Linked DNA regions of Homo sapiens: regions 1, 2, 3, 4 and 5 are each linked to region 6. The links are contacts of gene promoters, found by promoter capture Hi-C in human tissues and cell types (Jung and others, 2019). All regions are on one chromosome and are shown on one strand. Each heading gives the region's core, a stretch centred on a gene start or on the middle of the fragment in contact. The rest is flanking DNA. Distances are from core to core; before and after follow the strand shown.

What was found. Contacts are between HindIII fragments. The study calls those that stand out against the background at their distance.
Region 1: a fragment that was not itself captured here is called in contact with the fragment with the promoter of SLC35F6 in region 6 in 1 of the 25 tissues and cell types used here (pancreas).
Region 2: a fragment that was not itself captured here is called in contact with the fragment with the promoter of SLC35F6 in region 6 in 1 of the 25 tissues and cell types used here (pancreas).
Region 3: a contact is called between a fragment that was not itself captured here and the fragment with the promoter of SLC35F6 in region 6, in 2 of the 25 tissues and cell types used here (liver and mesendoderm cells).
Region 4: the fragment with the promoter of TMEM214 here is called in contact with the fragment with the promoter of SLC35F6 in region 6 in 1 of the 25 tissues and cell types used here (mesenchymal stem cells).
Region 5: a contact is called between a fragment that was not itself captured here and the fragment with the promoter of SLC35F6 in region 6, in 1 of the 25 tissues and cell types used here (mesenchymal stem cells).

What each region holds. Positions count from the first base shown.
Region 1 is chr2:27,080,617-27,085,576 of GRCh38, reverse strand. EMILIN1 (elastin microfibril interfacer 1) reads right to left here. Exons shown (of 8, transcript NM_007046.4): 3 at 4,625-4,845; 4 at 1,566-3,494; 5 at 1,046-1,162; 6 at 569-586; 7 at 280-417. Among named protein-coding and RNA genes, the nearest start is that of KHK, 3.7 kb to the left of the region's middle. RefSeq lists an enhancer at 3,999-4,258. The HindIII fragment of the contact is 5,307 bases long and covers 943-4,960 here.
Region 2 is chr2:26,418,830-26,423,616 of GRCh38, reverse strand. DRC1 (dynein regulatory complex subunit 1) reads right to left here. Exons shown (of 17, transcript NM_145038.5): 3 at 2,217-2,329. Among named protein-coding and RNA genes, the nearest start is that of DRC1, 19 kb to the right of the region's middle. The HindIII fragment of the contact is 5,834 bases long and covers 1-4,787 here.
Region 3 is chr2:26,499,320-26,504,173 of GRCh38, reverse strand. OTOF (otoferlin) reads left to right here. Exons shown (of 47, transcript NM_194248.3): 6 at 329-402; 7 at 1,748-1,874; 8 at 2,366-2,420. Among named protein-coding and RNA genes, the nearest start is that of OTOF, 57 kb to the left of the region's middle. RefSeq lists a silencer at 335-464. The HindIII fragment of the contact is 3,846 bases long and covers 678-4,523 here.
Region 4 is chr2:27,029,954-27,034,718 of GRCh38, reverse strand. It overlaps TMEM214 (transmembrane protein 214), which reads right to left and starts at 1,754. Exons shown (of 17, transcript NM_017727.5): 1 at 1,553-1,754; 2 at 453-652. The coding sequence starts at 1,703. RefSeq lists an enhancer at 1,842-2,131. The HindIII fragment of the contact is 11,592 bases long and covers 1-4,765 here.
Region 5 is chr2:26,364,924-26,369,495 of GRCh38, reverse strand. It overlaps SELENOI (selenoprotein I), which reads right to left. Exons shown (of 10, transcript NM_033505.4): 3 at 4,556-4,572; 4 at 2,276-2,350. Among named protein-coding and RNA genes, the nearest start is that of ADGRF3, 20 kb to the right of the region's middle. The HindIII fragment of the contact is 6,132 bases long and covers 1-4,572 here.
Region 6 is chr2:26,760,994-26,765,550 of GRCh38, reverse strand. It overlaps SLC35F6 (solute carrier family 35 member F6), which reads right to left and starts at 1,267. Exons shown (of 6, transcript NM_017877.4): 1 at 1,125-1,267. The coding sequence starts at 1,201. RefSeq lists a silencer at 1,091-1,400 and an enhancer at 1,411-1,610. The HindIII fragment of the contact is 8,469 bases long and covers 83-4,557 here.

The sequences.
Region 1 (4,960 bases), core at 2,347-4,846, 320 kb before region 6:
GAATGTGAGCGGCAGGGAACTGGGGGCTTTGTTCACTATGCATTCCCAGCACTTAAAACAGTGCCTGGGCAGGAGCAGGCCCCAGTAAAGATCTGCTGAATGAATGAATGACTACTTCTTCTCCCCACTGCCTGAGAATGAATAAATGAAGAAAGAGCCGGGGTCTCCCCAAATCAGAGAATGAAGATTCACACTGTCGGAAAAGGCAAGAATGGGAAGATATCACTGCACACCTCACCCATTTCTCCAACCGTTCAACCCAGCCCCTCCCAGGACTACCTGTCTCTGGATCATAATAGCCTCCATCATTGAGCAGGACTCTGTCGAAGGGGACCGTGCCTGGTTCAGACCGGGGCAAACTCAGAGCAGCTGAAAATGCCACTTGGGGCACAGGGGCTGCTGGTGCCCCCTCCACTCCTGAGTGGGAAGGGTGGATGTTAAAGGGGATGCTCAGGGCAGAGTGCCAGCCCCCTTCCCCTGCTGGATCCCCAGCCCAGGGCTGCCCGAGGACCTCTATCCTCCAACCCCTAGTCACTTCTCCCTCCAGAATCAAATGAAAGGCACTCACCCTGTTCACCTTGAGGACCTGTGAGAAGAGGAAAGGGAGCAGTGAGAAATAAAGCAGCTCTCACTAAGTCACTCAGCAAACATCTGCTGAGGCTCTCCTGTTGTGCTCGGTGCTACGTGGACTTCAAAGCAGGAATTGGGGTATCAAGAAAAACAGGAATAGGTAGGGTCCATTCTGTTCAACTGCTGGGCCATCCCAGCCTTTCACACCCCAGACAGCTATAATAGACTCAGCTTTAGTCTCCAGTACTGCAGTGGGGCCAACATTATCCATTAGCCTCCTAATACCCATTAACCAAACACAGTGACTATCACAGTTCCTCCTCACTTTCCTCTGATTTTCCCTTATCGGTCAGGTAGTACCCAATTCCCCTTGTCAAGTTCAGAGTGGAATGTCAAGCCTGGGGCTGCCAGCGGGGGTCAGGGTTGGAGGGGGCAGTGGCAACCCTGACTGCAGCAAGGGTCTCAGTGCACATACCTGGTGGCCCGATGGGGCCCTCTTGCCCGTCCTTGCCTGGTGATCCTGGAGGTCCAGCAGGGCCTGGGGGTCCCTGCAGCCCAGGAGGCCCTGGGGGCCCAGCCTCTCCTGCAGGCCCTACAGTGACAAAATTGAGTTGAAGGAGGGCCATAAAAGGAGTTTCCAATGGGTAAGGAAGGTGGGTGGTGGCTTCATGAACAGGGAGAAGATGGATGGAACAGGTGGAGCTTTGCAGGCTGAGGGGGCCATGGGGTCCCTTGCTGCATATGCTGGATCCCTGGCTGGCAGAGCAACATCCTCTCTCCACCCACAGGCCTAGTGAGCAGCCAGAGGGAGGGCGGGAGCTAGGACCTTGCATCATCTCTTGCAGGCAAACTATAACACCTGGAATACTGGCTGGGGCTGCAATTCATGTTGGGAAAAGCAAGGAGAAAGCAGATGAGTTGGAAGCTGGGCTGGGGGAGGGAGAAGAAAAATAAGGGGCTTGAAAGGGGTCCCCTCATGCCTTTTGTCCCCTCACCAGTGAGGTCCTTCAGGCTGAGCTGGTGCAGACGGTCCTCCAGGAGCTGCAGGGAGCTGTTAAGGGCACCCAGCCGCCTGCCCAGGCCCGCCTGTCCCCCGACCAGCTTCTCCAGCAGGGCTGCCTGCATCTGGCTGGTGGTGTTGGTTTCCCGGAGCCCAGCCCAGAGCCCAGCCACGTGTCTGGAAAGGCCCTCGCGCAGGCCCTGCAGTCCCCCAGCCACAGTGTCCAACCGTTCACAGACACCCTCAAGACGGCCCAATCGCCCCTCTAAGCTGGGGCACTGGCCGGCCTGTGCTTGTCCCTCCTCTAGGCCTCGGAAGCGCTCTTCACTCTCTGTAGCATGCTCTGTGGCCTCCTGCTGCAGCCTGTTAATCTCAGAAATGATACGGTCCTTGGTTGCCCCCAGGTCAGCCAGATCAGCGCCCTGGCCCTCCACAGTGGTCTGGAGCTCATTCAGTGAGTCATTGAGGGAGCTGAAGCTGAGAATAACCTCAGAGAGCTCTCCTTGCAGGGCCTGCAGGGCTGAGCCTGAGCTGCCCCCAAACACGCTGAAGCCGTCCAGGGGCCCACGGCTTGGGCCCCCAACACCTGGACCAGCCCCAGGACCCCGAGGAGGCAACAGGGGGCAGGAGCAGCGCTCCACACCATCCCGAAGGCGGCCTAGTTCCTCTTGGACTCCGCCACAGGCCCCACAGCCCTCATCCCCATGGGCCTGCAGCAGCCCCTCCAGTTGGCCTAGCCGGGCCGCAGTGAGATTCAGCCGTAGTGTGAACTCTGCAGCTGTCTCATCCTGGGCATCCACACGATCCTGGAGCCGGCCCACAACCTCTTGTAATCCCTCCAGCGTGGCCTGCCGGGCCTCCCCCGCTGCTTCCACCGTGTGCAGGCCGGAGCCCACCAGCCGCAGCTGCCCCTCACTGTCCAGCACCCTGCGCTCCAAGGCACTGAGGATCTCGCTGACTTGAGAGTCCTGCTCCCCAGGGGCCCCAGAGCAGAGCTGCCCGCATGCCTGCATGGCCCCTGCCACCTGCTCCTCCAACAGATCCAACCGCCCCCCCAGCTCCCCGCTCACATTGGCCAGCAGCCCCCCCAACTGCTCTAGTCGGCCCCGGGCAGCAGGCAGCCAGTGGCTCAGCCCCCCAGGAGCCCCAGGCCAGCTCTCCTCCTGCTCCTCCGAAGGGCCCAGGGTGGAGTTGAAGCGGTCCTCCAGGCGAGACAGGCGGGAGGCCAAGCTGGTGTAGCCTGGGGGGTGGCCTCCCTGCCCCGCGGCTCCTCCCAGCTCTGTGCCTCGCCGCCCACTCAGCACTGTCACTGAGCCGGCCACGACATCCAGCCTGCGCTCCAGCTCTGCCAGTCGCCGGCCCAGCTCTGGAGAGCAGCATTCCTGAGGGGGCCTGCGGCCCACCGCCAGCCCTGCGAGGTGCCGTTGCCGCTCCTCCACCGAGGCCAGCAGCTTCTCCATCGCTCGCAGCCGCTCCCTGTCCTCCTGCTGCTGCCGGCGGAAGCCATCTAGCCCGGCCAGGCACACGGAGCAGGACTCCTGCAACCGCTGCTCCAGCTGCCGCAGCAGCTCCTCACTGGGGCCCGGAGGGGCTGAGGCTGGGGCTGGGGCCCTGCTGCCCCCACTGCTGCTGCTGCCGCCATGATGGTTGTTGAGGTGACCCAGCTCCTGGTCGTGGGTGGAGACGCGGGTGTCCAGGAGCTGCAGCTGGTGCTGGATCTCATTGAGGGTTTCATGCACCCCAGGGCGGGCAGCCGCGTCAGCTGGCTGCTGCCTCCCGTTGAAGGCCGTCTCCACAGCCCTCTGCACATCCTCTGCCAGGCGCCCGCTCAGTCCTTGCAGGACGCCCCGCAGGCCTTGCAGCTCCTTGGTCAGGCTCTGCACCTGTTCCTCCAGCTGCTGCACCTTCTCTGACTCCCCAGGACCTGAGGAGAGGGGAAGGCAGAAGGCAGAGGGGCTGGACCCCAGAGCTCAAGGCCCCTGCTCACCCCAGCTCCAGCAAGGGTCAGATGCCCAGGCTGGCTCTGCCTCTCCTTTGGGTGATTTTGGCAAGAGAAAAAAAAAGAAACTCCATTCACTGAATGCCTCTAGGCCAAATATGAACCATGGCTCTGTTCTTCAATAACTCCCCTGGGGAGATACCATGAACTCTTCCCATCATATAGGCTGGGAAACTGGACCAGAGATATTAGGTGCCTGGCCATGGATCACAGGTTTAATAAATGGCAGTGCTAAGTTTCAAACCCAGACCATCTATCCAGCCCCCAGGTCCATGTCCTTTCCACCTGCCCAGAGTGCCTCTTAACTTCTTGGAAACTCTTTCCTCTTCTGCGAAAGGATAATGACACTCTTCTGTCATGGGGCTGTCAAGAGGGGCGAAATGGGAGTGTAGGGAGGCACTCTGGATGCCACAACAGTAGCTACCACTGGGTGACACTTCCCTGCAACACCACGGGGACAAAGAAGAGGCTCTGTGGACGGTGAGAGTTGGCCAGGAGTTCCTGTTTGCATAATTATAGTAAGGCTATCTCGGGGCAGGGAAACAGCACATCCGGTGTGCAGCACGCAGGAGGGAAGGCAAGCCACAGGAACTGCTGCATGCTGGGACCTGCGGTCTCCAGAGGCCACGGAGGGGTCTGGGATCTGTAGTCAGGTGCAATGCATGCTAGGATTTGTAGTCTCAACTGTCTGTCCCCACGGACCAAGCTTCTCAAAGGAATGCCCCTTTCTCCTGCAGCTGTTTGAAGGATCTTGGCCACATGGGGCGTGTGCGAGCACCTTCTCTTTTTTGGCCTTCTTTTTCTCAGTCTCTCCATCTTTTGCGTGCTCTCTCCCTCTCTCTCACACAGACACACAAATACACACACACACACACACACACACACACACACACACACACGGGCAGGGAATCTCTGCGATCTCACTAACCCTTCTGCCCCTCTCTTCTCTCTGGCATAGAGCACGGGGGACTCCCCCAGCAGCCTGGCCCCACATTTCCCATTGCATTGGATCACCATTTGGAACTTGCCACCCTCGCAGCAGCTCCCACACTCACCTTCTCCCCCCAGTCCACTGAGGGGGCTGCCTGCACTGGAGCCAGAGAGGTTGGGGCGGGCAGGCCGGGCCAGGGGCCGTGGTGTGGAAGACGCAGGCCCCAGCGCTGGAGCGGGACTCTCAGCACAGTCATCGCCCCCATAACCCTGACAGCACCTCCACTCCATGTCGGTCACTGTCTTGTAGGCCACACGGTAGCGAGGGCGGAGGAAGCGGCGGTACCTGGCAGAGGCAGAAGGAGGCCTCTTTATTCCTCCCTGTACGGTCAGTGACCCTGGTCCCTGTCCTCAGGGGTGGGCAGCTGCTGGTGGGCATGGCCTGTCCCTCAGGCTGGGTC
Region 2 (4,787 bases), core at 995-3,494, 340 kb after region 6:
TATGGAAACTCCACCAATGAGTGATGGAAAATAGGGACAGCCTTTCCATAAATTCCAAAGAACCTCCGTGATAGAGCACACCGAGGCTGGGGCGAGGTGGCAGGAAGGCAGGAGAGCTGAGCTGGGGCCCCTCTGGGAACAGTGGCTAAGATATCTGCCAGAGACTCTCTGCTCCTTGTAACAGACTAATCCTATGAGAGCACCTCCAAACAAACCCCCTGAGGAACCGAAGTCACAGCTTAAACATCCTGCAATCCCCTCTTCCTGTCCCATCCCCCACCCACCCCACCTTCCAAGCTAGGACACTTTTTTAATTTAATTGACTTTTTTATTTCAAGAAATGAGAAAGAGCTGTCAGGTCATCTTTCCGCAGCACACTGACCTTGTAACCTGCCACCTGGGACCTTCAGCATTCCTCTGTGGCTAGAGGACAAGGCCTAACTCCTTGCATGACCTTCCCTGCCTTTCACAAGCTGACCCTGCTGGGAATCTGCCGACTCCATTCCTGGCACAGCCCATACAGGCAGTGGGAAGTTTCGAGAATAAAAGTCACCCACGTTTACTGGTAGGGCTGCTAAAGTTGCTAAAGAGGGAACTGCTTATGCTGAACAACTAAAAATATTGTTAAAATCGACCCCTGTGTGTATATGATGAGACAAAATGGTCAAGTGGTTGCCTTTTTTTTTTTTTTTTTTAAAGACTAGGTTTCACTCCCATTGCCTAGGCTGGAGTCCAGTGGCACACTCTTGGCTCACTACAACGTCCACCTCCTGGGCTCAAGTGATCCTCCTGCCTCGGCCTCCTGAGTACTGGGACTACAGGTGTGCACGCGCCACCACACCCAGCTAATTTTTTGTGTTCTTAGTAGAGACGGAGTTTCACCATGTTGGCCAAGCTGGTCTTGAACTCCTGACCTCAAGCAATCCGCCTTCCTCGGCCTCCCAAAGTGCTGGGATTACATGCGTGGGCCACCCCGTGCCTGGCCAAGTGGTTGTTCTTCTAATTGTTTAAGAAATTAATTGAAGAACAATCCAAAGCTTAAATGAGGACCTGCTATCAGTCTACTTCTGTGTGCAAACCAAAGAAGTTTAATTCTTCTAAGCCGCTTATGCCTCCCTGCTGGACAGCCTGAGACCTGGGACATGGGCGTGCAGGGCAGCCTGCCTCCTGAGGACTGGAGCTGAGGACTTGACGCAGGTTCTTGTGATCCCTGTGAACCTCCATCCTTCTATGCATGGAGCCCTCAATATTCTTTAATAATGCTGCCACCTTTACACATAACACTGAGGTATTCGTGGGTCTGGTCATTCTCACCAATTGAAACCCAGGACTGCCCAGTTGACCTTCTTAGCCTCTTCTCTTTTCTTCCATTACCCGCATACATCCTTCGCTATCATGCCATTCCCAAGCACATCATGTGATCTCACACCTCTGCTCAAGTGTTCCCTCTGCCTAAAATGCCTACTCTTCAATTCCTCAAATTCCTATTCATCCCTCACAGCCCAGCTCAACGTCACCTTGCCTGGGAAGTTTTCTGTAATCTCTGCAGATAGAATTAAAGGCCTCCTTGTGTGTGTTACTACAACCCTTTACACATTATCTATTTTACCACGAATTATGGGTGTTTCCATGTGTCTCTTGACTAGACTGTGAATACCACAAACAGAGGCCGTGTTTCACTCCTTTTGTATACACACAGCTTGGCACGTATCAGCAATGTAGTGCTTGAGGAGGGGAGGAAAGAAAAGAGATGAGATAGCCGGGCGCGGTGGCTCACGCCTGTAATTCCAACACTTTGGGAGGCCAAGGCGGGTGGATCACGTGAGGTCAGTAGTTCGAGACCAGCCTGGCCAACATGGTGAAACCCCGTCTCTACTAAAAATACAAAATTAGCCTGGCTTGGTGGCGCATGCCTGTAATCCCAGCTACTCAGGAGGCTGAGGCAGGAGAATCACTTGAACCTGGGAGGTGGAGGTTGCGGTGAGCCGAGATCACGTCATTGCACTCCAGCCTGGGCAACAAGAGCGAAACTCTGTCTCAAAAAAAAAAAAAAAAAAAAGAGAGAGAAAGAAGAGGAGGGAGGGAGGGAGAAGTTATAAGGGCAGGAAGGGAATTGTCTAAGGTGGACAAAGTCACCCTCCAACAATTCGGGAGAACTGCCGGACCCATGGAGATTACCTTCATGTCCACCAGCTGCAGAGTAGCACAGTCCTTACCTTTGACGCTTTATCTCCTCTTCTTCGACTCTCCTGTGAATCTCTCTGATATCTATAGCCACCTGGATATTTGTCACCAACTCGGTGCCACAGAGCAGAAGTTTAGCCAATTTCTAAAAAGAGAGATATAAGAATTTACAAAGCTAGAACACTTTGTAAATAATATATAAAGTCTGAAACATTTTTGCACAACTGTCCGCAGCTTCTATCCATTCAAGCAGGAAGCAGCAACTACCTTAAGATTTTTAAGAGTAGCCTCTGTGTAGCAACCCTTTTCTATCAGGACATTTGTGATGTGATTTTACAGCTCACAATTTAAAAGCACTCTGCAGTTCTTGGCCAGGCACAGTGGCTCATGCCTGTAGTCCCAGCACTTTGGGAGGCCAAGGTGGGTGGAGCATTTGAGGTCAGGAGTTCGAGACCAGCTTGGCCAACATGGTGAAACCCCATCTCTACTAAAAATTCAAAAATTAGCCAGGCATGGTGGCGGGTGCCTGTAATCCCAGCTACTCAGCAGGCTGAGGCAGGAGAATCATTTGAACCTGGGAGGCAGAAGTTACAGTGAGCCAAGGTCACGCCGCTACACTCCAGCCTGAGCAACAAAGTGAGACCCTATCTCAGAAAAAAAAAAAAAGAAGAAGAAAAAGAAAGAAAAAAGAAAAAGAGAAAGAAAAGTCCAGTATCCAGTCATAATATGATGAGGCCTGGAGAAAAGCCACTGCGTTTGGCTAGAAGGGCATCATTAGTATCCTACTGTGGTAAGTTTTTGTCCAATCCTGGGCAAAATAAAAAATTTTAAAAAAAGCACTCTGCAGTTCTCAATGTACTTTATTTATTCACTGTAGAGAAGGCACCAGCCAACTTTTATACCAGCAGATATTGTACATTCATCTCAGCCTTGTCCCCAGCAGATCTCCAAGTGACTGACACTGCCGGGAGCCTTTCGAAGAACCTCAGTTGGGGAGGTGAGGCAGGTAATGACAGTGAGGCAGATAATGACAGTGAGGCAGATAATGACAGTGAGGCAGGTAATGACAGCTGTGCTCCCATGTCCATTTCTCCCTCTCCTTTTAGTAACAGAACACTCAAATTTTTGCTGGGATGTGGCTTCCCAAAATAGGTACCTTTCCCAGCCTCCCTTGCACCTAGAATACTATCTGATCAGTGACACAGGAGAAGTAATGTGTGCCACTTCTGAATTGTGACTTTAAGGGGAAAAGGTGTACCCTCTGCTGCCCCACTTCTGCCCCTTCTCCCAGGCTGGCATGTGGGGCTCAAGTAAAAGGTGATGAGCAGATAAAGGCAACTCAAGCAATGGCAGAGGGAGCTGAGGTCCCATCATCAAGCAGACCCCATCCATGTGAGCCCTGGACTACTTATACTCGGAACTGTTGAGACAGAGAAACAAGCTTCTGTCCTGCTGCAGCTAATGATATGTGGAGTCTTTCATTACATGGATTCTAAGGCAGGAAAAGATTGTAGCTGGCTGCACTGCTGTCTCCTTAATGGGCTCAGGGATTTTGTAATTGGTGCCATCCTTCTAAATCCCTCTTCGTAAATTCCATCTCCAGTATCTTCACTCCTAGCCTTGTTGTGATGTTATTCAAGATGATAAATCCTCTCAACAAAAAGTTCGAGTATCCTTAGGTTATGCCTAAGTTTTTTCAAGTCTTTTTGGAACTTATGAACTCTCCAACTCTCAAATAATTTTTAAACTAGGAACCTATAAAACTTCTACACCAAGGAGTCACAGAAATGACCAGAGACTTCACTTGATCTCACTATTATATGAAAAATTTGAAATGTAGTTTCATTGAATACAGAACAGAGCTTTAACCCAGATATCCAGGGCACTCTAGATTTTTTGTTAATGCCTGCAGTTTTATCACTTGTACAAAATGGTTTTACGTGCATAAGGAAGTAATGGCTTTCCTGCAGTTTGGGGTTATTTTCTAGTTTCTACTCAATGTGAACATCAGAGAGTTCTGTATAAGTACCATGTGCTAACCAATTACTGGAGTTCCAGAAATTTCTGAATCAAGTATTTAAGACTCAAAGTAAAATTAAAAATCCAAATGTCAGCCACCAACAGACCAAAATGCCCCTCACCTTTATGAGATCCAGGGAAAGCATTTAAATGGAGGTCCACATACCATATGTCTAAATATTTTTAAATTATAGTATCATGTAAAAATTGTTAAATAAAACATTCAGCCGGGCATGGTGGCTCACACCTGTAATCCCAGCAATTTGGGAGGCCAACACGGGCGGTTCACCTGAGGCCAGGAGTTCAAGACCAGCCTGAACAACATGGTGAAACCCCGTCTCTACTAAAAATATAAAACTTAGCCAGGCATGGTGGTGCACACCTATAGTCCCAGCTACTTGGGAGGCTGAGGCAGGGGAATCGCGTGAACCCAGGAGGTGGAGGTTGCAGTGAGCTGAGATCATGCAACTGTACTCCAGCCTAGGTGACAGAGTGAGACTCTGTCTCAAAATATATATATAATATAATATATATAATATATAATGTTGTATATATAATATATAATATGCTTTATATATACTATA
Region 3 (4,854 bases), core at 1,351-3,850, 260 kb after region 6:
GAAAAGTCCAAGACCCAGAGGAGCTCCAGTTAAAACGGCTCTTTCCGGCTCAAGACCACGTTCCCTGCTTGCTGGGGACCCCATCCCTCTCCTCCGTGTGTGAAAGGATGGCAAAGGCGGAAGTGGAGGGGTCTCTCACTGCCCTGATTCCCCCTCCTGGCTCCCAATTTGGGAAGACAGATCCCGATCTGTCTCGGGACCAGTAGGTGAGGGGCCGGGTCCATCTCCCTTCTCTGATGTGTTCTCTCATGTTTGGCTCTTCTGTGTTTGTGTGTTTTCCTCCATGCGTCCCTCTCCCTGCACCTCATTCTGGTGGCCCCCCTCACAGAGCCGGGAGGAGCGTGTTCTCCGCCATGAAGCTCGGCAAAAACCGGTCTCACAAGGAGGAGCCCCAAAGACCAGGTAGGACAGGTGCCGCGTGAGCCCCGCAGCCCCGCGCCTCGCGGCGCCCTCCCGCCGCTTTCCAGCCCCTGCCCGGCTGCCAAAAGGCCCTCCTGGGATAGGTCGTCCCAGGGCCAGGCCCCACCCAGTGATGCGTGGCCCTCTAGGAAGGAGACGCCCTAGGGCCGAGGGAGGGAAACGGGCAGCGCCCTCTGTCGGGGGTGCCTGGTTACAAGGCTCCTCCCGCCCTCGTTGCTCCCGGTTCTTCCTTCTTCACGCAGAAGCCCAGTGTTTTAATTAGAGCAGAGAATATCCATCAAGAAACGCTGTTTGGCCAACTCCCTATTTCTGGGGGGAAACCGTTGTCCCACTAGTACGGGGTCGGCGGCAGGCCTCGCCCAAGCGCTCTCACCAGGCTGCAGCCTGGCCTTTGGGGAGGTCCTGGGGCCGCTGGAGGGCGCGGCAGGGCCGGGCCTGGGAGGCTGGAGCAGCAGGTGGCACTGGGCCCTCCCGGAGGAGCGACTGGAGAGGGGAAGACAGCTGCTGCAGAGGAGGCGGGAGGCCTGGAGGAAGACAAGGGGAGAAATGGAGAGGACAGGGGAGCTGGGAGGGGGCCATCTTCTCCATCACGGGCCCACCATCGGGGCTCCCGGCTGCCCTCCCCCAGCATCCCCTCTGTGGCCTACTGGCCCTCAGGCTCTCTCCCCCACCCTCTTGCCCCCATGCCAATTCCAGCCGTGCCCTTCACCTTCTTAAATGGAGAGAGTACAGCTGCTGGCTGAGGACCAAACCCAGCATCCTTGGGTGGCTGTTCGGAATCCACATGTCTGCATCTCATTAGATGAATACACACCAATGCATTAGGTTCTGAATTCCATCAGCTGTTTGATATGGATAAGTTACTTCCTAAGCCTTCGTTTCTGTACCTGTGACATGAGAATAACGCCCATCTTGGCAGGGCACAGCTCTAAGGACTAGAGATAGTCATGTAAAGTCCTGGTGTTGTGCCTGGAACAGAGAGTATCCACCCAACAAATGGTAGCTATTTATTGAGAGGTGCAAAAGTATGGATTCTTTATTCCCTACCTTCTTCCATAAGAGATATTCAGTGCCTAAGTAAGTGGTATACAATAAAAGAGCATTCAATTAAAATAAAAAGGCAAGACCAGACATAATGGCCATTCAAATCCAAGATCGGGATTAGGTAGAAAAACACTGCAGTTATTCAGGCCATAATATTCTAAGCGGTAGCAACTAAGTAAACCTCGAATTTAACTCTCAGCTTTCTGGATGCCAGAGTAAAAGGAGAAATGGTCACTATCTCACCATCAGTCAGCCCACCTAACCAGTCTTTCATCTTCCCCAGATGAACCGGCGGTGCTGGAGATGGAAGACCTTGACCATCTGGCCATTCGGCTAGGAGATGGACTGGATCCCGACTCGGTGTCTCTAGCCTCAGTCACAGCTCTCACCACTAATGTCTCCAACAAGCGGTGAGTGGACGGGAGCCCTGCAACCCCAGCTGCCCCCACCCTGTCAGGCAGGACCTGGCTTGCCATGATTGGAATTTGGGTAGGGAAGAATCAGGGCTCATGGACGGCTTCTTCCTAACCTAACCTTACCCTTTTCTGCTTTTCCTTGGGTGTTTTTCTCACCTCTCTCCCTGCAAAAGCAGAGCACAGCAGCTGCAGGCCTGTTCTCAGGTCCTTGAATACCTCCCAGCCCAAGGAAGCCACAGACCTGCCCACCCCATATTTGAACCTATTGACCCCATGTCTGTCTCTCTGTTACTTCTGCCTTTGATTAGTTCTCTGTGTTGAGGCCTCTGAAGACAACTAATCCTCACTATTCTTGGCAGTGCTTGAGTGTTTAAAGACCATGATTCTGTCCCTCTGCCCACTCCCAGGTCTAACCACTGCCAGTGTCCTCCTCCCCAACAAGCAGTCCCCATACCCCAGGCCTGATGGTACATTCTCTTCCTCAGATCTAAGCCAGACATTAAGATGGAGCCAAGTGCTGGGCGGCCCATGGATTACCAGGTAGGTGGGCACCTGGAGGCCTCATGTCTTTCAGACTCTGCTCTAGTGGGGGATTCTAGCCGGATGTGCATTATCCACTATACTGAGGCATGGATCCAGGGGTCATAGAGAACAACAAGCTGAATATAAGTTCCCAAAGTAAGCTTGTTCCTGGGAGGCATTCCTAGAAGTATCATCAGTAGAGAGATACAAACCCAAAGAAAAGCTTGAGAACTCTGCCTATGCTAATCAAAGCCCTTCCAGTATTTCATGTTCAGTATTGGACTTCATAAAGTGAGAAGCACCTAGAAAAACCATAAAGAGACCAAGAACTACAAAAAAGTATTCAAACAGTTAAAATAAGGGCCTTTGAAGAAAGTTTTCCTGGCATGATTTTTAAATTGTTGTTTTGTATTATTTGATTGCTGGAAGTAATGACGATTCTGTTTATCTCTGGATGGTGAGACTGTGAGTGATTTTTTTCTTCTTTTTGCTTCTCTGTATTTTCTGAGATTAACACAACTTTTTTATTTGTGTGCTTCTAAGACCAGAGACAAAAGACTGAGACAAAGAGAGGTTGACAGCTGTAAGAATGTGAATGTGGCCAACAGTGCAGGCAGGACAGGTGATGAGCATGTCTGGTGGCTGCTGGGACACCATCTCTCAGGAAGGGCCCAGGGACCCTCCATTGCTCCAGACCCTCCCTTGGAGGCTAACAGGACTCAGCTATAAATCAGAAGACTGCTGGGCTTTCCTAGGATTGAGTTAGAATGCTGGCTGCTCAGAGGGGACAGGGCTTGCAAGAGATCTCACCTGGCTGCCACTGCACTTCTGTCCTGGGGATGTTCGGTCTGGGTATCAGCACCAGGCCCCAGAATCAGAGTGAGCCCCATCTACCAGGGTAGAGCTTTATCTCTGATGCCTAGTTCCAGACCCCAAGCACACTAACCCTTCTTTACGGACAACCCCACCTCCCCTCACTCAGGTGATGATGGAAAGGATAAGATGGCACTTTTCTATGTAAAAGGTACATCTGGCCATGTTTTCTCCAGAATATACTTCATCTCCCTTCATCTTTGTTTTAGTTAGTTTCCATCTACTCAGGCAACTGTCTTCCCAGGTGCCTGAAAAACAGCCCCAGGCAATGTCAAACGGACCTGCCCCTGTGGTTTTAAATAACTTCAAGCCATTGGATTCCTTAGGGGTTTGAGAATGCCGGCCCCTCACCTCTGCCAAAACCCAAACACAAAGTGTCCTGAGACTTCCGAGGGCTTTTCCAAGGGATTGGGCTCAGGGCTTTGTTTCTCTGTGTGCTGAGAACTGGAGAATTCCAAAGAACAACGACCCCAACTCAGGTATCATGTCACTGGCCTAAGAGGTAAGGACACATCAAAAATAGAGTCATTATTGTTCATGAAACTTATTTTTGAAGGTTTATTCTATGCCAGGCACTGTGCTAGGAGCTATATATGTATTTCCATTGAAGTTAATGTAATTCTTCAACCACCCAAATATAGGTGTTACTGCATTTATAGGTAAGAAAGTGAGGCCCCAGGAAGGTCAGGAACTTGTCCCAGGTCGTTGCCACTAAGTTAGCCAAGGTTAGAGCCAGGGTTCAAGGCCAGGGGTGTCTGGCCATAGCCATAAGAGCAATTGACTTCTCTATATCAAGCCTTCTAGACAGCTGCTCCCTTCGGGTCCCTGGTTCATCTTCATCTTGCTACTTAGTGCTTGTTTTCCAAACCTTTTCAAACTGCCTCCTACCAGAGACTTTTATTAACTGGACCAGACATTGTCCCCTCCAAAGACTTTTTAAACCGAACTGAACAAAACGGTTGTTGTATTTAACCTGGTAGCATAGTGTTTCCCGACAAGTTCATTCACAATTAACCTTGCAAACATTTGAGTGAGAGCTATGAGGATGCAAATGTGAAATTATTTTCACTTCCAATACATACAGTGTATAATGCAATAAAAGCAGGCCGGGTGCAGTGACTCATGCCTGTAATCCCAGCACTTTCAGAGGCCGAGATGAGTGGATTGCAAGACCAGCCTGGCCAACATGGTGAAACCCCGTCTCTACTAAAAATACAAAAATTAGCCAGGCATGGTGGTGGCGCATACCTGTAATCCCAGCTACTTGGGAGGCTGAGGCAGGAGAATCACTTGAACCCAGAAAGTGGAGGTTGTAGTGAGTCGAGACCGCACCACTGCACTCCAACCTGGGCAACAGAGGGAGACCTTGTCTCAAAAGAAAATTAAAAATAAATAAATAAATAATAAAAAGCAATAAAACCAGATACGACTTCACTCTCTTGGAGACTTTGGGTTTGATGAGATATAAAGACCGCAGGAAGGACACCTCGTTGGTGAGATGTGGGGAGACTTAGCTGAACTCAGATCCAGGAAGGGTTGTGAGGGCTCAGGACCATTCTAAAGGTTATGGCACTGAAAG
Region 4 (4,765 bases), core at 505-3,004, 270 kb before region 6:
CCAGCTGCTTGGGAGGCTGAGGCAGGAGACAGAGGTTGCAGTGAGCTGAGATCACACCACTGCACACCAGCCTGGGCGACAGAGGGAGACTCTAACTCAAAAAAAAAAAAAAAAAAAGAGGAAAACAGAGGACAAGACAGAAAATGAAAGATCAGTATTTCCATAGGACAGAGAATCATAACCAGTTTCTCCATCTCCTCCCTGGTGTTCCTGGGTCTTCAAGGCTTTCCTCTTACCAATCCATGTTTCCCTATAAATTTTCCATTTCCTTTCTATTCTAAGTGCAGGCATTCTGTTCCCCTGGGGTTTCCATCTTTTCCTGAACTCCTCTCAACCCTTAAAGTGTTTCAAATCCCATAGGATCTCAGCTGCCCATCCACCTCCCCCTCCTCTCATCTTCTCTAAATCTCAAGCCCCCATTCTTTCTGCGTCTCATGTCTAGGCACACTCACAGCTTTCAGTGCTTCCTCCAGGCTGCGGAAGCGGCCCTGCTTCTGGTTTTGGTTGGGAGGAGTTGCCACCTTCTTTGGCTGCTTCTTGTTCCCTGGTTTCTTAGGTTCCACAGCAGGGGGTGGGACCTGCTCCTTATTCTGCCGCTTCATGATATTCTCAAAGCCCCGCTCATAAAGGGTGCTTGTGGTCTGGATTGCAGCTGGGGTGAAGATAGGTAGAGAAAGGCAGGCCACCCTTGAGTCCCCAAGGCCTCACCTATCAGTGGTCCCTTTCCCCACACTGCCACCTAATTCATCTCCAGGGAAGAGCCTGTCTCAAAGCCCCTTCCTCTTGGACTGCTTAAGGAGCAGGGCAGGCTGTTCTCCTGGTAGCTTCTTTCATTACAGCTCTTGAGTCTATGGGCTCTTTCATAAAGATGGGGCAGTTCTTCATTAGACAAATCAGAGTATGTAGGAACAAGCAGAGAGGTTGGATATAGAGGTTTGCCTTATTCAGTGAGTGGCTACTAGTCTGGGAAGACAAGCTTTTTCCATCTTGGTCCTACCCTAACGCCTCTTGGTTCCGACATGACAACTCTATAATCAACAAGTGGCAATCTTTCTCCACTCCTCAGTGGAAGAACCAGGTGTCACTTATAATTCCTGGTGAGTGTTGAGTGTGTGGCGGTCATTTCTCCCACTGCTGGGCCTCCTGTCCCTTCCTCCATGACCTGCTGGTTACTTAAAGAGGGGGCACCGTGTATAATGATCCACAGTACCTCTTCAAAGCTCAGACACCTGCCCAGAGAGACCAGCTAGGGCCCTGGGCAGCTGGGAGAGTGTGTGCAGTGAACTGAGAGTCTGAGGACCGGAATCCTAGCCCCTCTGACACATGACCCTGGCCAAGGTATCCAACTTCACTGGGCCTCAGTTTACTCATCTGGGAGGTGAGGACCGCAACCTTCCCTGGAGCTGTCTGCCTCCCGTGAGGCTCCAAAGAGACAACGCAAGCGTGGCGCTCGGGGATGTGCCTGCGAGCTCGCGCCCAGGTTCTGGGAGCCGCTCGCTGCGACCCTGCCGGACAGGCCTGGGGTAGGCGGCGGGGCAGGGCGGGTACTCACGGGTCAGGTCGTATTTCCACACTCCGTTTGCTTCCCCGAGCGCCCTGCGGTTCCTGCCGCCTCCTCGGCCGCCGGCGCCGGCGCCGACCCCAGGCCGCCGACCCTTCTTCACTACCTCCCACCGCCCCACGCCCGCCGTCTTGGTCGCCATGGCTCGCAGCCCTCCCTCCTCGGCCACTTCCCCGGCTTTCCGGTCCGGCGCGAGCGCGCCGCACTCTGCCACGTCTCCTCGCAGGACCGCGCGCCCGGCGCCCGGCGCCCGCCGCAAGGCAGCCTGGGACTTGTAGTCCCTCTCCTGGGCCGGGCTCTCCTGAGCGAAGAGCATCGGGAAGAGGCTTCCGCGGCAGCCTGCGGCCCCCGCCCAGGCGAAGAGGCCGGGAGGAGAGGAGATTCCCTTCTGAGAACGTTCATTGAGCGTCGATGTGAAGGCCACGGCATTGAGAGACTTGGTAGAACTGTTTCTGTTTTTCTTTCCTTTATTGATCAATTGATTGATTGATTGCCAGGGCCGCGCTCTGTCGCCCAGACTGGAGTGCAGTAGCGCGATCTCAGCTCACTGTAACTTCCGCCACCCAGGTTCAAGCGACTCTCGTGCCTCAGCGTCCCGAGTAGCAGGGACTACAGGCTCCCGCTGCCAAGCCCAGCTAATTTTTGTATTTTTAGTAGAGACGGGGTTTCGCCATGTTGGCTAGGCTGGTCTCGAACTCCTGACCTAAAGTGACCCACCCCACCCCCACCCCTCAGCCTCCCAAAGTGCTGGGATTACAGGCGTGAGCCACGGCGCCCGGCCACTGTTTTTCTTTCCTTTCTCGTAGAGCTGGAAGGATGGAAGGGAAGTAGTGCTCCTCATATCTAGGGAGAGATTGAAGATTAAATGCTTCCTTCCTTCTAGGAAAGTGCTGGCTTTACTGTTGCTAGTGATTAAACCTCGGGTTTAATGGGCTATACAAATCTATTGCCAAAGAACAAGGAAGAGGATGGGGGCTTGAGGAAAGGGCAGAGTGTTGGGGAGCTGGGGTAGGAGGTGGAGAATGGAGAATAATTTTTTTTTTTTTTTTTGAGACAGGATCTTGCTTTGTCGCCCAGGCTGGAGTTCAGTGGCGCGATCACGACTCACTGCAGCCTCAACTTCTAGGGCTCAGGTGATCCCCCACCACGGATCACCTGACCCACCACCACCCCCGGCTAATCTTTGGTATTTTTTGTAGAGACTGGGTTTTGCTGTGTTGCCCAGGCTGATCTCAAACTCCTGGGCTCAGTGATCCACCCTCTTCAGCCTCCCAAAGTGCTGGGATTACAGGAGTGAGCCACCGCTCCTGGCCTCTGAGTTCTTCTCATGGGAGGCTGAGAAAAGTCTGGGGGTCTGGGACAGCCAGGGCCGGGTTTCCCCTTCCAGGCAATGAGAAAGAACAGGCTCTGCCTCCCACCATAAGAGTCAATCCCAAGTTCCAGATGTGTCAGGGAAGCGATGGAGAGCCCCAGACTTGAGGCATCTGCAGACAGGTTCCTGCTCAGACATCCACGTGGAGGGTGTTAGTATCCTGGGAGCCTTCAGAACCTTGAAGCATGCCAGCAGAGGAGAATGAGGGAAGATAAAATCAAAGTGACTTATCACAATTAAGGAAATGTGCTATTTCATGTACAACTGTGTGTGAGGATGAGATTCCTACCTGCCATACTGAGGTATTATGATAAGAACTAAGAGAGTCCAAATTCCTACAGGATGAACAGCTGAGGGAGCGATGCATTCCTTAGGAAGGAGTTTAGCTTCCCGAAGGAGACGGCAGCTGAGATAGGTTCTGAGAAATAGCATTTTCATTGGTTCCCCGGGCGCCGTGGCTCACGCCTGTAATCCCAGCACTTCGGGAGGCCGAGGTGGGTATCACCTGAGGTCAGGAGTTCGAAACCAGTCAGGCCAACATGGTGAAACCCCATCTCTACTAAATACAAAAAAGTAGCCAGGTATGATGGCGCAGGCCTATAATCTCAGCTACTTGGGAGGCTGAGGCAGGAGAATCGCTTGAACCTTGGAGGCGGAGGTTGCAGTGAGCCGAGATTGTGCCACTGCACTCCAACCTGGGCAACAAGAGCTAAACTCCGTCTCAAAAAACCCAAAACAACAACAACAACAAAAAACAAAATTGAATGTTCACTGGCTGAGGGTTAGGGTGGGTGGAGAGAAAATGCCAGTTGTGTGGATCTGTTGATGTAAAACAAAGGCCTAGAGGGTGGTAAACTGGAAGCAGTTCAATGGGACAGTGCTTGATGGGACTTTGGAGGTGATGAGGTTTGATATAGTTTGGATTTTTGTCCCTGCCCAAGTCTCATGTTGAATTGTAATCCCCAGCGCTGGCAGTTGGGCCTGGTGGGAAGTGTTTGGATCATGGTGGTGGATCCCTCATGGTGGATCCCAGTTCTCATGAGATCTGGTCATTTAAAAGTGTGTGGCACCTCCCCACCACCTCTCTCTCTCGCTCGCTTGCTCGCTCCTGCTTTTACCATGTGATGTGCCTGCTCCCCCTTTGCCTTCCGCCATGATTGTAAGCTTCCTGAGGCTTCCCTAGAAGCAGATGTCAGCATTATGCTTCCTATACAGTCTGCAGAACTGTGAGCCAATTAAACTTCTTTTCTTATAAATTACCCAGTCTAGATGTTTCTTTATAGCAATGCAACAATAGCCTCTTATGAGTTTGGAAAGGGATCTGAGCCCATATGCCAAGGAACTTGCCTGCCAAATCTGGACTTTATCCTTCAGGCCCTGGGAGACCAGTGAGAGGGTGGCATAATCCACTCTTTTGGAAGGGTAAATGTGGCTGTGTGAAGTGTTGGTAGGGGAAGGCAGGGGGTGGGAGATGAGCATATCTTGCTGCCTCCTTCTACCTGTCCTCCAGCCCCCTTAGGCCTGACCATGGCTGACTTTGCATCCGGTAGCTCTGAGATACAGTGCCTTTGCCAAGGACCATATTTGAACTGATCATTAATCAATTCATTTTGCAGATCATTGGTTTAGGTGTACTCAGGAGACCAACAACAATATCTTCTCTTTGTTTGACCCCTCCTGTGTCACATGTATGATCACAGAAGAGACCATGTTTTTGGAAGAGAAACAGAACTGGCTTTCCATTGAGGCAAATGAGGGGGCTGCCCCATGGTGGAGACACACAGAAGGGTGGGAGAGGGACTCTATCTTTCATTGGAATAGTCTAGTAAGTT
Region 5 (4,572 bases), core at 837-3,336, 400 kb after region 6:
TAAGGACAAGAAGAGAATCTCCAGTTTCTATTCTGGGTAACGAAGATAGTGGTAGTGTTAATAGAAAAAAAGAAGTCAGAATAAGCAGCAAGAGTGACAGACAAGATGCAGAGTACAATTTTAGATACTGAAATTGAAATGTTAGTGAGATATCCACATGGTAATGTCAAGGAACTCAATCCAAGGGTACTTATTAGGAACTCAGAACACAGATCAGGGCTAGATATAAACATGAGAATCTTAACTAAGACTGTAGAGTGAGAATCACCATTACCAAGGGAATGAGGAGAAAGCCAGAGTTTAGGATAAAGCACAGTAGAATACCTTCATTTTACAGGCAGAAACAGAAGAGCCTGTTAGAGACAGCCTGTCTCACTGAACTGTACAATTTTTCCCCCAAAAGAAACAGTTTTGTTAACTAGTGCATTAGAATTAGGCTAACTGAAAAAATTCAGATTAAGGAATTAACTCCTATAATTACGGTTAATCTTGCTCACCAAAGTACATTCCCCAGTGCCTAGATCAGTCTGTGGCATAATATATTGTTGAAGACTATATGAAAAGATGAATCCCAAACTCCCTATCCAAATACTACAGATTTCTGTTATACAGGGTTGGGAAAGTTTTTGCCCTGAAGTAGCTAAAATATTCCCAGAAAGTCTTTTCTCATTATTTACTGGCTTAACAATTTCCCATTTTCAATGTAACTCCTATACAGTTATTACAATACTAAATTCATAACTATGTATTAATTAGGTTTTATACATTTTCTCACTACACCCATTCCATCTCCACAAGTCTGAGGTCCAGATATGCTTTAGAATTTTTTTTTCTTAAAAAGGTAATTCAGGGCATATATCATATATTATCAGAGACTCCCCAGTAGGACATAGAGCAGCATCCTGTGATCAAACATCTTAGTATTTCTGCAGCAAAATGTCATGAATAGTCACACTAGGTAGAATAAAGATTATAAACTGCTTCATGTTCGTTCAAGACTGGTTTGCAACAAATAGTTCATGTCAGACCAGGGTTTTTGCCAGAAAACTGTGGGCCTAGAACAAGTAGATGGTACATCAAAAGGATCTTACGGCGTGTTGTCAAAAGTCAGAGCTCACAGCCACTCTCAACTTTTCCCTATTCCTCTCAGCAGTCCTTGGCAACCAAATCCTTCAGCAGCACTTAAAGACCTGCTCATCTTTAATAACAAATGTGCAAAAACCTCTGCCTAAATATGTAGCTTTTAACTAAGCTTTCCCTTAATTCTTCTAGACGTCACTGATTTCTTCCTTCTCCAAACTCTTGCAGCTCTGGTCAGCATGACATCTACCATATCAGCATTTAATCATGTAGCAGGTTATGCTGGTTTTATGAGAACAAGTCACTTTTATCTGAAGAGATCTAAGCAACTTGAAGTCAGGGTCTGCTATTTTACATGTATTTAAAAACTATGTACCGAGTGTCTACGATACTGGGGATACAGTAGTGAACAACGCAGTACTCACTTTCACAAAACTTAACGTTTTAGTTAGAAAAGAGAGATAACAAACAAGCAGGCAAGTAAATAGATAACATGTTACATGGTTTTAAGTGCTATGGAGAAAAATAAAGCAGGGAAGGAGAGAAGAATGCAGGACAAGCCATGTGGATAATCCTAATGAAAAGCATTCTTGGCAGGACAGACAGCATGGTCTAGCACAGTAGGCCTCCCTGCCCACTCCCTGACCGCTCCCTGTACCAAAAAAGAATTGATCACTTCCTTATTTGTTTTCCCACTGTGTTCTATCATACTATTTTTTAATTATTACATATGACAGTATTGCTTCCCAAACTTAAGAAAAATGATGTCTTATTCCAGAGGTTGGTAAATATTTTTTAAAGGCCGCATGATAAATATTTTAGGCTTTGCAGGCCATACAGTCTTTGTTGCAACTATTCAACTGTGTCTTTATAGCAGGAAAACAGCCATAGACAATATATAAAGGAATAAGCATAGATGTGTGCCAGTAAAACTCTACTAACAAAAATAGGCTACACACCAAATTTGGCCCACAAGTAGTAGTTTACCAACTCTTATCTTATTCTGTGAATCCCTGGCAATGAATGACAAAATTTTTTGTAAAGAAACTCAAAAACATATTTATCAATTTGAACAGGATACTAATAAACTCTAGTTAAAATGAATTAAGCACAGGAGAAAATGTTATTTTAATACGTGGCTATCCTTGCTGATTCACCAGTCACTGACTATAGTAAGTATTTACCAATTCCTTACCTAGAGTGTAGGCTACGAAGTTGAGGATGCCCACTACAATCCAAACCCAGTCAGGCACGTGCTTGTGACCTGGTGCTGAAAAGGAAAGCAACTAAGATTTTAATACAGTTTAAGTACAGTAGTTCTTACCATAGCATATACTGACAGTGAGAAGTGTCGCTATTTGTTCATTAGAAGTTAAAGTACTTTACAATATATTTTGAATCCAGAATTACGTAAATAATACCAGGAAACTGATAAAACCAAAAAAGCAACATCCCAGCCTGTCACAAACAGTAAGCAGTTATTTTGAGCTTTTATCGTAACTCAAGACTGAGTGTTCACCTTTACTTGAAAATAAATAATTTTCATGCGCCTACAATGAAAAATAATATATTTTTGGAATTTAGAAATTAATTGCATTTAATCTAATTCTTGTTTATGACTGTATTACAAACTTGTATTGAGCCTTCACCTTATCCTTTCCTATACTATTAATTAGCTAAACAAAAGACCTTTTGATTTGGGTATAGATAGATCACCTCAACTGAATGATTTGGGCATCAGAATCATTCTGAAATATCTAGAGCTCACTTTTTCCCCTAAGACAAAACAACTGAGAATCAGAAAGTCTAGGGTCTAGTCCTGGCTTTGTAATCAACCAGCAGTGTAACCTTGAATGTATCATTTAATCTCTCCCATCTTGTATTTTCCAAATATTTTGGGAACAGATGGTTTATCTGGTCCTTGAACTTATATGATTTGGGGAGATATATATAACATTTACATATGTTTGATGCTGTTAATAGCTAAGTAAATAATCTTATTTAGAGTTGTCAAAGAAAATAGTATTTCTAGTTACAAAGATACATTCTTTAGGGTGTCCTGAGGATTAAAATACAAAAATAAATAAATAAATAAATAAATTTTTAAAAACCCACAATACCCAAACAATGCTTAACAAAATTTAATCTTACTCTTTATTCATGTGTACTTTATGATCTTCTCATGCTTCAGAGTTGGCATTTCCAACTTCAATTACCATTTTATTACATGTACAGAAGCTATGGCTAAAAGTTTCAGTAAAGTTCAGCATATGTATACTTTCAATATTTGGAATTTCTATAGTATCAAAAGTCTTGGCCAGGTGCAGTGGCTCACACCTGTAATCCCAGCACTTTGGGAGGCCAAGGCGGGTGGATCATTTGAGGTCAGGAGTTTGAGACCAGCCTGGCCAACATGGTGAAACCCTGCTCTACTACAAATACAAAAATTAGCTGGGCATGGAAGTACACGCCTGTAGTCCCAGCTACTCAGGACGCTGAGGCAGGAGAATCGCTTGAACCTGGGAGGCAGAGGTTTCAGTGAGCCAAGATGGCATCATTGTACTCCAGCCTGGGCGACAGAGTGACACTCCGTCTCAAAAAAAAAAAAAAAAAAAAAAAAGTCTTAAGTGTTTGAAACTCCAAATTTTTCTACTAAAACAATGTTGTCAGTGGTACTCAGTTTCTCCAGGTCAGTCCAGAAAAGTCTGCTGAACTCATACACAGATGAATTATAACACTAACACTCCTGACTACATCATTTCTAAGTATTACTGTTGGAAAATTCTCTTAGAATGCAAAAAATGCCCATCTATCTCCAACTTTCTATTCCTCTCAATGCAATCAACTGACTGAACAATAAAAACAAAACTTGTCTCCAACTATTCCCTCGTCATCCCAATTCTTTGGCCTGGGGCAGAAGCTGGGTGTGAAACAGAGTGAAGATAAAATGAGTGAGAGAGAAGATGTTGGAGCAGAGGGCAGGAGCAGGCTGACCACTGGCTCCAAAAGTGCCTCCTTCCTCTCTTCCTCAATAAGGGTCCAGACTTAGCAATAAATACTTAAGGTCTAAGTATCATTTTCAGAGGAAACTAGGAGTCATTCAAGTCAAGTAGGGATGCTGGGAAGAAGGAAAGACAATCACATGTCCTTCAGAAGAAAGGGGATTTTTCTTTCATGACTAGAAAAGGAGAAGGGATATTCCTAGAGCTGACAGGTAAACTGAGCCCTGTTTGTATTCATTTTTAGGCAAAGTTTTGAGTCTTAATTTTCCATCTTCATGTAAACCCAATTATTCTTTATCTGCCAAAACCTCATTGCTTTTTAGACAACATATCTAATTCAATAGGCAAGGTGATGCCATTATAATATTCAAAATTTTTTAGAAATATGAACATTTTAACAAAACCAGAAAATAAGCATCCACATTTCATTTTTTTCTACTCAGTTAAATTTTATAATAAAGTAATATTCTTACCTGAGGCATAAAAGTCA
Region 6 (4,557 bases), core at 18-2,517:
TTACACACCGTAGGTACCTTATACATGGGATCGTGCCATTGCACTCCAGCCTGGGCAACAAGAAAAGGAGGGGCAGGAAGGCCCTGCCCTGAGATGGAGACAGAGAGAGACAAAGAAATGCCATCCTGCCCACAACAGAGGGGAGGCTAGGCCCTGTCCCTCAGTCTCATGACTGCCTGGGTCCTTAGTCCCTAACCTCCTGGGAACTGTCCCCCCTCTCACCCCCATACATCAGAGCTGAACTGGCCACTTGCCCTCTCTGTCTGAGTTAATGGCACTTTTCTTCTCCCAGGCAGAAACCCTGGAGTGATCCTTGTTTCTTGCTCATGTGGGTCAGGCCTGTGGCCATTCACACCTGGTCTCTGCCACCAGTTGTCCCTTCCTTTCTCTTCTCACTGCCACCTCCTAGTTCCCCTCATCTGCTATGCAGCAGCCTTGGAGTGGTTTTTCCTGCACCAAACCACTCCTCATGTCATTGAGTCAATCATATCACTTTCAACATGTCATTCCCCAGCTCAAAAGCACTTTTCTGATTATGAGAGAAAATCTAACCTGGGCATTTGATGCTGGTTACAATCGACTTTGATCTGGCCTTTCCGTAGACTTTCCTTGACTTACAGTCTCAGACACATTCCGAAATCCCACCTAAGCTTCAAAGCACAGCTCTAACCCCTCATCCTTGAGGGGCCGTGGGGCACCTCCCTGTCTGCCGCTTGAGGCCTCCACGCTCACTGGGTCACTCGGCCTGCACAGCCACTACTGCGGCTCATGTGCACAAGTCCAGGGGTCTCTCCCAGCTCGTGGAGGGAGGTGCTCAGGCTTGGACGCCAGCACTGGAAGGGCCGTGGAAAGGAATCGGCCAACCCTCCTGTTAAAAGACGTGGAAACAGGAGCGGAGGCTGTACAGCAAATCAAAGCCGGGGCTCGGATCCCCCCGTCCGGGGCGCAGCCCCGCTCCGCATTTCCCCGGGCCTCGCATCCCTTGGGTGGTCATAACGCGCGCGAACTGACCGGAGCAAGTGGGAAAGCAGGGGAAGCCAGGAGGGCAGGGCCAAGAAGGGGGAAGGCGTAGAACGAGCGCCGGGGTCGCCAGGGCCCGCACGCCCGGCAGGGCCCAGACTCACTTTGCCGAGAGCGTGTTGATGGAGCCGGTAACAAGCATGAGCCCGGCCAGGAACAGCTGGTACTTGGTCCAGGCCATGTCGGCGGACGCTGGGGTTCGCTCCAGTTAGCGGCGCCGGGCCCCGTCACCCGGGGTCTCCTGCGCGAGCGCTTCCGGGCCGGGCGTCACGTGACCCCTCCTGCTCGCCCCGCCCCCGGGGAGCGCGCCTGAGCCACGGTGCCCGCGCTCTGCCGAGTCGTCCTGGAGCGCTTTGGTGGCCACGCCGTGGCCCTGGCAAATCACGGCCCAGGCCTTCCAGTTTTTTTTTTCTTTTCTTCCTCACTCTCCCCCGCCTTTTTGGGTTTCTTTTTTCTATTTTTTTGAGAAGGAGTCTCACTCTGTCGCCCAGGCTGGAGTGCAATGGCATGATCTCGGCTCACTGCAATATCCGCCTCCTGGGTTCAAGCGATTCTCCTGCTTCAGCCTCCCGAGTAGCTCGGATTACAGGCGCCCTTCACCACGCCCGGCTAATTTTTTGTATTTTTAGTAGAGACAGGGCTTCACCATGTTGGCCAGGCTGGTCTCGAACTCCCGACCTCAGGTGATCCGCCCTCCTCCGCATCCCAAAGTATTGGGATTACAGGCGTGAACCACCGCGCCTGGCCTTGGTTTCTTATTTTTATCTTTGGGTCTTCCTATTTGTAAAAGGGGCGGATGGGACAGTGCAGTGAGGGTGCATCGTGGCTATTACAGCATTTTGTGAATCGTTTTGAGAGGTTGAGCTGGGCGGTGTCAGAAAGGAGCCCTGAAGTGGGCCTGCCGGGAGTTCCTTGGGGACCCTGTAGAGAGGAGATTCCCACGCTGGACGTTTCCACTTCGGGGCTCCTATCTGATACCGCCCACCTTGGGCACAGTTCATATCTTTCAGCAAAGTGGCGAAGGCATCTAGCTCCAGTTGCCGAGGACACCATTTTATAGCTGAGGACAGTAAATTCAGCGAAGCAGAGTGATTTGCTTAAGAACCTGCTGGTGAGCAGTGGGGTAGGGATTTGCGCTTGGGTTCTCCAGTCTCCAAAAATCCGTGCCTTCCGCATGGCCTCTGCACCAAGCCCTGCTTCACTGCTCCTTTGTGGACTTTCTGGTCGCAGCTGAGGCATCCAGGCAGAAAGACCATCCCTAGGTTTGTTTGAAGAGGGTGTTGACGAAGAGTCACACTCTAAAATATTTGAAGGGATTTATTCTGAGCCAAATATTTGTGACCATGGCCCGTGACACAGCCCTCAGGAGGTCCTGAGAACATGTGCCCAAAGTGGTCGGGGCGCAGCATTTTAGAAAGACACGAGACATCAATCAAATACATTTAAGAAATACATTGGTTTGGTCCAGAAAGGTAGGACAACTCAAAGCCGGGAGGAGGGGAGAGGGTGGGGCAGGAAACGGGAAAAATATCTATCTATGTTAATAGAGATTTTTGTTTTTTTTTGAGACGGAGTCTTGCTCTGTCGCCCAGGCTGGAGTGCAGTGGTGCGATCTCGGCTCACTGCAACCTCCACCTCCCGGATTCAATCAGTTCTCTGCCTCAGCCTCCCAAGTAGCTGGGACTACAGGTGCCTGCCACCACGCCTGGCTAAATTTTGTATTTCTAGTAGAGATGGGGGGGGTCTCACCATGTTGGCCAGGCTGGTCTTGAACTCCTGATCCACCTGCCTCGGCCTCCCAAAGTGCTGGGATTACAGGCGTGATCCGCCACGCCCGGCCGGTAATAGAGATTCTTTACAGATGCAAATTTTCCCCCACAAAAGACAGATTTGCAGGGCCATTTCAAGATATGGCAAAGAAAAATGTTTTGGGGTAAAATCTTTTGACTTTCTTCTTAGTCACATAATATTATGCCAGAGTCAGATTGGAAAGTAAGTCATGATATATAGGGTTAAATAAAACCCATCTGATGAGAATTTATGGTTTGTAGGGCATGACTCTCCAGACCTCTTAGGTAGGAATTTGGGCAAGGTAAAAAAAATCAGAGCTTAGTCCTCAAGGGGTTCTGGTGTTTAAAATCCTACTCTTGGCTGGGTGTGGTGGTTCACACCTATAATCCTAGCACTTTGGGAGGCTGAAGCGGGCTGATTGCTTGAGCTCAGGATTTCCAGACAAGCCTGGGCAACATGGCAAAACTCAGTCTCTACTAAAAATGCAAAAATTAGCTGAGTGTCATGACAAGTACCCATAATCCCAGCTACTCAGGAGGCTAAGTAGGAGGATCGCTTGAGTCCCTGGAGGTGGAGGTTGCAATGAACTGAGATCATGCCACTATACTCCGGCCTGGGTGGCAAAGTGACACCCTGTCTTAAAAAAAGAAAAAAAAAAGGCCAGGCGCGGTGGCTCGCACCTGTAATCCCAGCACTTTGGGAGGCTGAGGCAGGTGGATCACCTGAGGTCGGAATTCAAGATCAGCCTGACCAACATGGTGAAACCCCATCTCTACTAAAATACAAAAAATTAGCCAGGTGTGGGGGTGCATGCTTGTAATCTCAGCTACTCCGGAGGCTGAGGCAGGAGAATCGCTTGAACCTGGGAGATGGAAGTTGCAGTGAGCCAAGATCGAGCCATTGCACTCCAGCCTGGGCAACAAGCGCGAAAACTCCATCTCAAAAAAAAAAAAAAAAAGAAAGAAAAAGAAAAGAAAAAACTGCTCCTAATATGCCTTTCCCAGTGCTCTAGTCTGCACCCATGCCCTGTCACGCCAGCGACAAGATCCTTTTGTTACCAGAAAGGGGTTCTGATCCAGACCTCAAGAGAGGGTTCTTGGACCTGGCACCTTGCGGGGAATCCATAAAGTGAAAACAAGTTTATTAAGAAAGTAAAGGATAAAGAATGGCTACTCCATTGGCAGAGCAGCCCCGAGGGCTGCTGATTGGTTATTTTTATGGATATTTCTGGATTATATGCCAAACAAGGGGTGGATTATTCATGAGTTTTCTGGGAAAGGGGTGGGCAATTGCCAGAACTAAGTGTTCCTCCCCTTTTTAGACCATGTAGGTTAACTTCCAGTTGCTACCATGGCATCTGTAAACTGTCGCGCGCTGGTGCGAGTGTCTTTTAGCATGCTAATGCATTATAAATAGTGTATAACAAGCAGTGAGAAAAACCAGAGGTCACTTTTGTCGCCATCTTGGTTTTGGTGGGTTTTGGCCGGCTTCTTTACTGCATCCTGTTTTATCAGCAAGGTCTTTGTGACCTGTACCTTGTGCCCACTTCCTATCTCGACCTGTGACTTAGAATGCCTAACCTCCTGGGAATGCAGCCCAGTAGGTCTCAGCCTCGTTTTACCCAGCCCCTGTTCAAGATGGAGTTGCTCTGATTTAAATGTCTCTGACACTTTGGAAAACGACTTCAGACCGAGCCAACACACTTCCCCTATGCTGCAGATCTTGTTTCTGTGGTGAGAAAAGAAC